Regions from separate parts of the Homo sapiens genome. Here all the other regions are linked to region 3. Evidence: promoter capture Hi-C in 16 types of primary human blood cells and fetal thymus (Javierre and others, 2016). All regions are on one chromosome and are shown on one strand. Each heading gives the region's core, a stretch centred on a gene start or on the middle of the fragment in contact. The rest is flanking DNA. Distances are from core to core; before and after follow the strand shown.

Evidence for each region. The method cuts DNA at HindIII sites, captures the fragments that hold promoters and counts their contacts. A CHiCAGO score of 5 or more calls a contact.
Region 1: a contact is called between a fragment that was not itself captured here and the fragment with the promoter of AJAP1 in region 3, in 1 of 17 cell types (total B cells). The highest score is 6.6, in total B cells.
Region 2: a contact is called between a fragment that was not itself captured here and the fragment with the promoter of AJAP1 in region 3, in 1 of 17 cell types (naive CD8 T cells). The highest score is 5.6, in naive CD8 T cells.

Annotation. Positions count from the first base shown.
Region 1 is chr1:3,917,788-3,920,487 of GRCh38, forward strand. No RefSeq gene overlaps it. Among named protein-coding and RNA genes, the nearest start is that of LINC01134, 19 kb to the left of the region's middle. The HindIII fragment of the contact is 5,645 bases long and covers 1-2,700 here.
Region 2 is chr1:5,483,810-5,486,509 of GRCh38, forward strand. No RefSeq gene overlaps it. Among named protein-coding and RNA genes, the nearest start is that of MIR4689, 380 kb to the right of the region's middle. The HindIII fragment of the contact is 6,615 bases long and covers 1-2,700 here.
Region 3 is chr1:4,653,247-4,655,946 of GRCh38, forward strand. It overlaps AJAP1 (adherens junctions associated protein 1), which reads left to right and starts at 1,363. Exons shown (of 6, transcript NM_018836.4): 1 at 1,363-2,208. The coding sequence starts at 2,180. The HindIII fragment of the contact is 10,824 bases long and covers 1-2,700 here.

The DNA of each region.
Region 1 (2,700 bases), core at 42-2,541, 740 kb before region 3:
GCAAATCCTGGGGTCTAGCCTCATAACTGCAAATCCTGGGGTCTAGCCTCCCTCTCTGGTTCTTGTCACCTCCTCGTGGGCTTCAGTCCCAAGTTCCAGATCGGGGCAAGACATGGCCGAAGCCCAGGGCCCGCATCCTCCCAGATTCCAGCCACCTGGGAGTGTGTCTGTGGTCCCTGGTCTCTGACGAGGTCCTGTGCCCTGCCATTGGTTCCAGGGGACTGCCGGAGCTGATGGGTCAGGCCTGCACTGGAGCTGGGTGGAGTTGGCTCCATCCTGAGGTTACCCCTATGCCAGAGGGGCATGGGTGGTTCCCAGGGTAGGGAAAGTGTGTGCTGGGTACCCAGACATCGAAGCCTACTGTGCCTCCTTCTGTGACAAGGCATGTGTCATGTGTTGCTCCAGGATGGGCATGTACTCATAGATGGGGCTCAACAGGTTGAATTCTCCTTTCCCTCCTTTCCTCTGGCTTATGGTCATCCACTCTTTGGAGCTAGCCAGGCCAAGTTGGAGGATGCAAAGGTGAATGGGGACACTGGCATTCCAAAGGGGACCCGATATAGTTTGGCTGTGTCCCCACCCGAATCTTACCTTGAATTCCCATGTGTTGTGGGAGGGACCTGGTGGGAGGTGATTGAATCATGGGGGCAGGTCTTTCCCATGCTGTTCTCATGATAGTGAATAAGTCTCATGAGATCTGATGGTTTTATAAGGGGGAGTTTCCCCACATAAGCTCTCTCTCTTTGCCTGCTGCCATCCATGTAAGATGTGACTTGCTCCTCCTTGCCTTCCGCCATGATTGTGAGGCCTCCCCAGCCACGTGGAACTGTAAGTCCATTCAATCTCTTTCTTTAGTAAATTGCCCAGTTTCGGGTATGTCTTTATCAGCAGTGTGAAAATGGACTAATACAGGGCCGCTTTGCAAATATGATGGAGCCTCACATCCCACAGAGCCAGGCTCGGGCAGATCTCTGAGGCAGGCTTTCTTTGTGAAGAGCTGCCTTGTAAGGGAGCCACAGAAAACACCTGGATAACGTAGAAGTCTTTGCCTGGGGGTGGGGAGTCAGCACGTAACCTTCTTATTTTTGGAATAAGCTCATGTGTTTCTGCTCATGGGGGACGAAAAACAACCTGCAGAGGCGCTTCGCTGTGTTCACGCAGTAGAGTTCCCAGGAAACCCTGGAGCTAATTCCAGGTCAAATTCTCATCCAAAACACTGGCTGCAAACGGCCCTGAATGCTGGAGTGATGGCAGGTCGTGACCAGACAGAGAAGACCAAGAGCCCTCCCGGGTTAATAGCGTAGGGGATTTATTTCCAGGATCACCACCCCCGGACTTGCCAGGCAGAGGGCTGTTCCGAGCGGCGCTGGAGGACAGGGTGCCTGAGGGCATCTCATTCTCCCAGCAGGACACCCTGGTTGCTTCCTTCCCACCTCCAGACCTTTATTGGCAATTCACCCGCTACAAAGGGCTCGCCCTCCCCAGTGCTATTTGTGGCTTTGCTGCTCATGTGGGTCCCCTGCTTGGTTCAGAGGAAACCTTTGTGTGCCCGGAAGGCCACCAGTGGAGGCCAGCAAATGCTGCCATTTCACCCCAGCCCACAGTGCCAGCTGCTGTTGTGGGGACAGTCTTTTCCCTTTTCCAGATAGGGGCTGAAAGTCATCTGCGTCTGGAACCCTCCCTTTCTCAAGGACAGTGGCGGTGGAAGGGGATGCTCTGCCCTGCTCCAGGAAACGATTCTTCATGAGTGGGCACACAGGCCGTCTCCTGAGACATCCACATTCTCTCTCTGGCCACTTTGCCTGGTGATGAAGGCCCAGGTTGGCAAGGTGTCGGGGACATCAGGGAGCCTAGGGTTAGTGAGCATTGGCAACAGTGGCTACTCACATCCCAGGGATCAGGAGGCCTATGGGGAAAGACCCAGTGCAAGCCCCCTCCCATGCACGACAAGGGGCTGCCCCCAGTTCCATGGAGTGATAAAAATGCCCAGTTGTCCAGTCCCTGAGGCACTTTAACCACGCAGGACCAGCTCCATTTCCAGGACTTGCTCTAGGTATCTTCTCCCAGCCTGCAGCCCTGGGCTGTCTTGGTCTCTGGGCCCCTCACCCTATGAATGCCATGGGGCTGGGTGCACTCTGCATATCTACATGTCATGGCCACCCATGCCCCCGTCCTCAGGTATTCACTGGCTGGCACTTTCCCCTGCTCTGTTCTGCAGGTTTCAGGCTGACAATGGGCACTGAAGTTCCAAGGGCATTGGAAATAGCAACTAGCTCGCTTGCCCACCAGCCCGCCCTCCCTCCCTCCTTCCCCCTCCCTCCCTCCCTTCCTTCCTTCCCTTCCTTCTTCCCTCTCTCCCTCCATCCCTCCCTCCCTTCCTTCTTTTCTTTGTCTTTCCCTCCCTCCCTCCCCCTTCCCCTCTTTTTCTCCCCTTCCTTCCTCCCTTCCTTCCTCCCTCCCTCCCTCCCCTTCCCTCCTTCCCTCCTTCCCTCCCTTCCCTCCCTCCTCCCTCCCTCCCTTCCTTCCTTTTCTTTGTCTTTCCCTCCATCCCTCCCCCTTCCCCTCTTTTTCTCTCCTTCCTTCCTTCCCTCCTTCCTTCCTTCCTCCCTCCCTCCCTCTTCCCTCCCTCTCTTTTTCTCTCCCTCTCACTCCCTCCCTCCGTCCCTCCCTTCCTTCTTTTCTTTGTCTTTCCCTCCCTCC
Region 2 (2,700 bases), core at 154-2,653, 830 kb after region 3:
GGTCCACTTAATTTCTAGAATGCTCAGGTAGAAACTAATCATTAAAAACATGTAAATTAATTTACCCCAGGAGCTTAATAGATTAGCCATCGACTTTTTTCCTCCTTTTGGATTCTAACCTTTCACGGAAATTAATCACAAAGGGCTCAAAATAGCCACCGAGGATTAACATGCTCTGTTCAGTCTTGGTGAGTGGGAACTCAGGCCCAGCCCCTCAGAGAGGAGGAAGGATCCCCGCATCTTCACATTCCCTTTTCCCCTCCCAGCAGTCCTCTGTTGGATTCGATACAGCCACCCCGGGAGTGGCTGGAAGCCCCTGGCCACCTGACTCTTCCTTCACAGCAGTTACCCAGGAGAAGGGAAAAAAAGGTCTGCCACTTGTGACATTGGCAGCCCGCACCCCACTGGGTGGAAAGGTCAGCCACACACATTGCAAAGAGGAGGGCCTTCTAGGGCACACAGAGACATCCCTGCACATTCTTTCATTCATGTATTCACTCTTGGAGCATTTATTGAGTACCTACAATATACCAGGACCTGCATGGGTGCTAAGCACATCTAGATCAACGAGATCCAGTCCCTGCCCTCAGGGGACAAACACGGAATCACAGGATCTCATCAGTGTGGCTGGAGCAACCACAGAGCATCCTGGGAGCCTGAGAAGGGAGGTGTGAAAACTGCCTGGAGCAGGCCTTGAGGGCTCCATGGAGGAAGGGACACTTTGAGCTTTTTCTTAAGCACTAGCAAGCATTTGCCAAGGGGAGGAGATGCTCTCCGGGAGGAATGGAGGACAAATATCATGACGGCTACAGGGACCCTGGGGCCAGCAGACCCGGGTTCAAAGCCAGATGCAGCCTCTGACCAGCTGTGTGATGACACCGTCATTGGGCAAGTCACTTGCCAATGTTGACGGAGGGTGGATTGTGGATTGTGCAGTAAGTGGAGCTCTTAAGGCTGCAGAAATGAACACGCCGGGTGAGGAACGGTGGGCAGAGAGATAAATGAATGAATTAATTAAAAAATGGATAGAAGGATGAGTCGGCTGCCTGGTGAGGAGTTCTGCCCTAGGAGTAGTCACAGGACATGGGAGGGATGTTGGCTGCAGAGCGTGCTCAGATTTGCTGCTTAGAACTGCGTCCCCAGCAGCAGCCCTGAGGGGCTGAGTTGCCGCAGGACATAGCTGCAGAGCCCTGACCACTTTTCTTCTCTAGGTTGGTGCCTTTGTCCACGGCTCTGCTGGGTGTGGTCTTCTGTCTTTGATCTGAGGCCCTTACGGCAGTGGTCCCCAGGTCTGCCCTCACAAAACTGACATCTGCCTGTGGACACTTTGGCTCCTGGATTCGTTTCCTTTGGCTGACATAACCCATCACCACACAGCGCTCCTGCAGAGGACACGTGCTGAGCATTTCCAGAAGAGAGGAGAATCAGCAGCAAGAACCATGGGTGTGCAGCATAGCCAGTAAGGGGGCACGAATGGTTTGATTTTGGAGATTAAAGGAAAGGGCAACTCTGGGACAAGTGTGATATACAAGTTCCAGGTTCAAATCTGTTTGCAAGTTCCTTCCATGACGGGACTGCCGCTGTACTTCTTTCACACACACCTTGCAGCCAGCCCTCACCTGTGCAGCTAGTCCTTATCTCTGCAGTCAGACCCCATCTGTACAGTCAGCCCTCACCTGTCCAGCCAGCCCTTACCTGTCCAGTCAGCCCTCACCTGTCCAGTCAGCCCTCACCTGTCCAGCCAGCCCTTACCTGCGCAGCTAGTCCTCACCTGTCCAGTCAGCCCTCACCTGTGCAGCTAGTCCTTATCTGTGCAGTCAGACCTCATCTGTACAGTCAGCCCTCACCTGTCCAGCCAGAACTCACCTGTGCAGCTAGTCCTCCCCTGTGCAGCTAGTCCTCACCTGTCCAGCCAGCCCTCACCTGTCCAGCCAGCCCTCACCTGCGCAGCTAGTCCTCACCTGTTGTCAGCCCTCACCTGTGCAGCTAGTCCTTATCTGTGCAGTCAGACCTCATCTGTACAGTCAGCTCTCACCTGTCCAGCCAGACCTCACCTGTGCAGCTAGTCCTCACCTGTGCAGCTAGTCTTCACCTGTCCAGCCAGACATCACCTGTCCAGCCAACCCACACCTGTGCAGCCAGACCTCACCTGTGTAGCCAGCCCTCACCTGTCCAGCCAGCCCTCATCTGTCCAGTCAGCCTTCACCTGTGCAGCTAGTCCTTATCTCTGCATTCAGAGCTCATCTGTACAGTCAGCCTTCACCTGTCCAGCCAGACCTCACCTGTGCAGCCAGCCTTCACCTGTCCAAGCAGCCCTCAGCTGTCCAGCCAACCCTCACCTGTGCAGTCAGTCCTCACCTGTCCACCCAGTTCTCACCTGTGCAGTCAGCCCTCACCTGTCCAGCCAGCCCTCACCTGTCTAGTCAGCCCCCACCTGTCCAGCCAGCACATTGTCAGTGCTGGGCTCAGACCCAGGCTTAAATTGGCAGCTGTTGACATTACAAGCCTCAAAGTTGAGAGGAGCAGGCAGAGGAACGGGGCTTCTTTCTTCTCTCTGGGCACCTAAACAGGGGTTACCTGCAGAGGCCTTAGACCAGGTGATGGCAAGAAGCCCACTCTCCGCAGCCTGGGGCTGTCTGCCTCCAGGCCTCTGCACCATGACTTTGCAGGAGCCGTGCAAACAGCAGCTGCGTCTGGCAA
Region 3 (2,700 bases), core at 113-2,612:
GCTCCTCAAGACCGTTGGCAAAGATCCTGGAGGCCTGGGGGTGAAAGGGCTGCTTGGGGGACTTAAGCCCCAAGCTATGGTTCGCCTGGGAGACTGAGCCCCAAGCCATGGTCCTCCTGGCTCTGCCCTTCCACCCCCTCACTGGCTGCCCCTCCCAGGGAGGCCTCACCTGTGAAGTGCTTCCCGCCCCTCTCACCCCCCACGGCTCTCACATGGCCTGGGGCGATTCCAGAGCTGGCCTGGGTCAAGCACCTGCACAGAGCACAGAGCGAAGGCTCGGCATGGTATATCCCCCGCCCCTTGCACCTTTCCCCAGTGAAGGGTGGCACCAGTGTCCTTTCCAAGGCCCGGATTCTGCACTGCCCTCAGCCTGTGGAGGATTAAAAGCAGGGTTTTGCCGTGGTTTCTCAAGGCGTCAGCGGGTCTGCAGAGGATTCCGCCCCATGTCACTTCTCTCAGTGAAAGGTCCCCGCCCAGCGTCTGTCCTCCTTTAAGTGCCCCCCATTTGTTTTTTGTTGTTGTTTTTGTTTGTTTTTTGCAAATACAGACTAACCAGGTAGGCACAGAGGAGTCCTGGCATGGGAAGGGAGCAGTGAAACGCCGGTGGAGAGTCCGGGAGGCCCAGATTCCCTGGAACTTTCCAGTGACTCCTCCGGAGCAAGGGCCTGGCCAGGCAGCAGCTGCGCTGGGCGATGAGGGACCGTTGGGTAATTGGGGGCATAGGACCGGGCTTCGCTGGGTTCGGGGCAGAAGCGCCGAAGCTCCGACCCGGAACGCGGTGACTTCATCAACGCAGAAGCCCGCGCAGCCGAGCAGAGGAGTCCCTCGTAGGCGACCCTCGGACAGACGCTCCTGCGCGGCCCGCGTGGCTCAGCTCCGCCCCAGGAAACTTTTCGCGCAGCCCCCGCTCCATGCGCCCCCACCCAGTCCTTCTTCGGGGCCGCCCCCTCCCCAAAGTAGCTCTCCGGGTCCACTGGGCGCCCCCGTAACCGGGTCGGAACCTCGAACGGCTTCGCGTGCCATCCGGTTACCCTGGCAACACCATCCGGCGGCGCCCGGCGGTCCAATCCTAGCCTGCGGCCTCTCTCGAGCCTTTCGCAAGGTGGGGACCGGGACGCGACCGGGGATGGGGAAGGGGGCTGCAGGAGGCCCCGCCTGCGCTGTCGCCCCTGCTGGGCACAGCGCCCCCCACCACCCGCGGCGACCCCGGCCCCCGCAAGGTGGGGCGGCGAGCAGGAGCCGGGGCCAGGCCAGGGGCTCGAGCTCCCGTTCGAGGGGCGGGGAAGGCGGGTGACGTGAGCCGGGCCGGGCGGGCGGAGTTGGGACCGGCTCCGGGAGGCGGGGGCGAGCGCGCGGAGAGGCAGACGCGAGGAGGGAGGCGGCTGAGCAGCGCGGGCGGCTCTGCGGCGGGCGCGGTGGGCGCGGGCGGCGGGGCCCCGGGATCCCCGCGCGCCTCCTCCGCGCGGCGCCGCCGCCGCGCGTCCCCACGCCCCGCGCTCCACGGCGCCCTCGCCCCGCGCGCCTCTCGTGCCCGCCTCCTGCCAGTCTCCGGGCCGCGGCCGTCTGCAGAGCGAGCGCTCAGACGGAGCCCCCGGGCAACTTGAGTGGCGCCGATCGGCGGCGGAGCCTCTGGCAGAGCCCCCCGACCCGGCAGCGCGGAGGGGACTCGCGTCCGTCCGCGTCGCGTCACCCCAAACCCTAAGCAGCGCCGCCCCATCGGCGCGGAGCTCCGGCTGGAGGCAAGAGCCGCGCGCCGGGAGACACGCACCGTGAGCGGCAGCGCCGCCGGCCTCCCTCCTCGCCGCCCCGGAGGGCGAAGCCGCGGCTCCCCAGCCCTTTGCTGCGCCGCGACAGCGCCGGAACACGCCCCGCCTCGCTGCCGCCTTCGCTGTGCCGCCGGCGGAGGGGGCCGCGAGCCCCGCGCCCCGGCCGGAGGATGTGCGCCCCCGCGGGCCGCCCAGCCTGAGCCATGCGCCCCAACGGCGGCGGCGCGCCGGCCGGCATGGAGCCCCGCGCGGCCGCGCTCTGACTCGCTGTGCGCCCCGCGGCCGGCGGGCGGCGGGAGGCGGCGGACCGAGAGCCGGAGACCGGCGCCGCGGGACGGAAGCGAGCGGGCGCGGGCGCCGCGCAGATGGCCTGGGCGAGCCAGGTCTGAGGCCCCGCTCCCCGAAACGTGACCATGTGGATTCAACAGCTTTTAGGACTCAGGTGAGCGACCCGGCCGGCGCCGGGTGCGTGTGGGCGCGTGGGTGCCAGGCTGGGCGGAAGCGGCGCTTTCCTCTATGTTGCAAATCAAGGGACCCCTCTTCGCTTCCCGCAAGCGGGCAACGGGGTGCACCGGTAGCCGGAAAGGGGCGCCCGCCCGGAGCCTGGAGCAGCACCGCGGCCCTGGCGGGGAGCGGCCGGGTCTCCAGGGTTCCGCGCGTCCGGGGTCGGGGCAGCGGCGCCCGCCCCAGCAACCCGGGAAGTGGGGCCGGCCAGGCGCGCCCGCAGCTCTAGGAGCCAGCAGCGCAGTGTCCTGGCCGGCTGCCCCGGCGCGCCTCCTCCCCGGGGCCCGGGGCGAGGCGCCGGCCGCTGGGCGCGGCGGGCGCGGGGGCCGGGGCTGCCGGGGAAAGCTAAAGCTCCGGGCTCCCAGCGAGAGCTTCGCAGGCGGAGTTGGAGGAAACCACAGCCAAACAGCCACTCCGCTCCCCCTTCTCC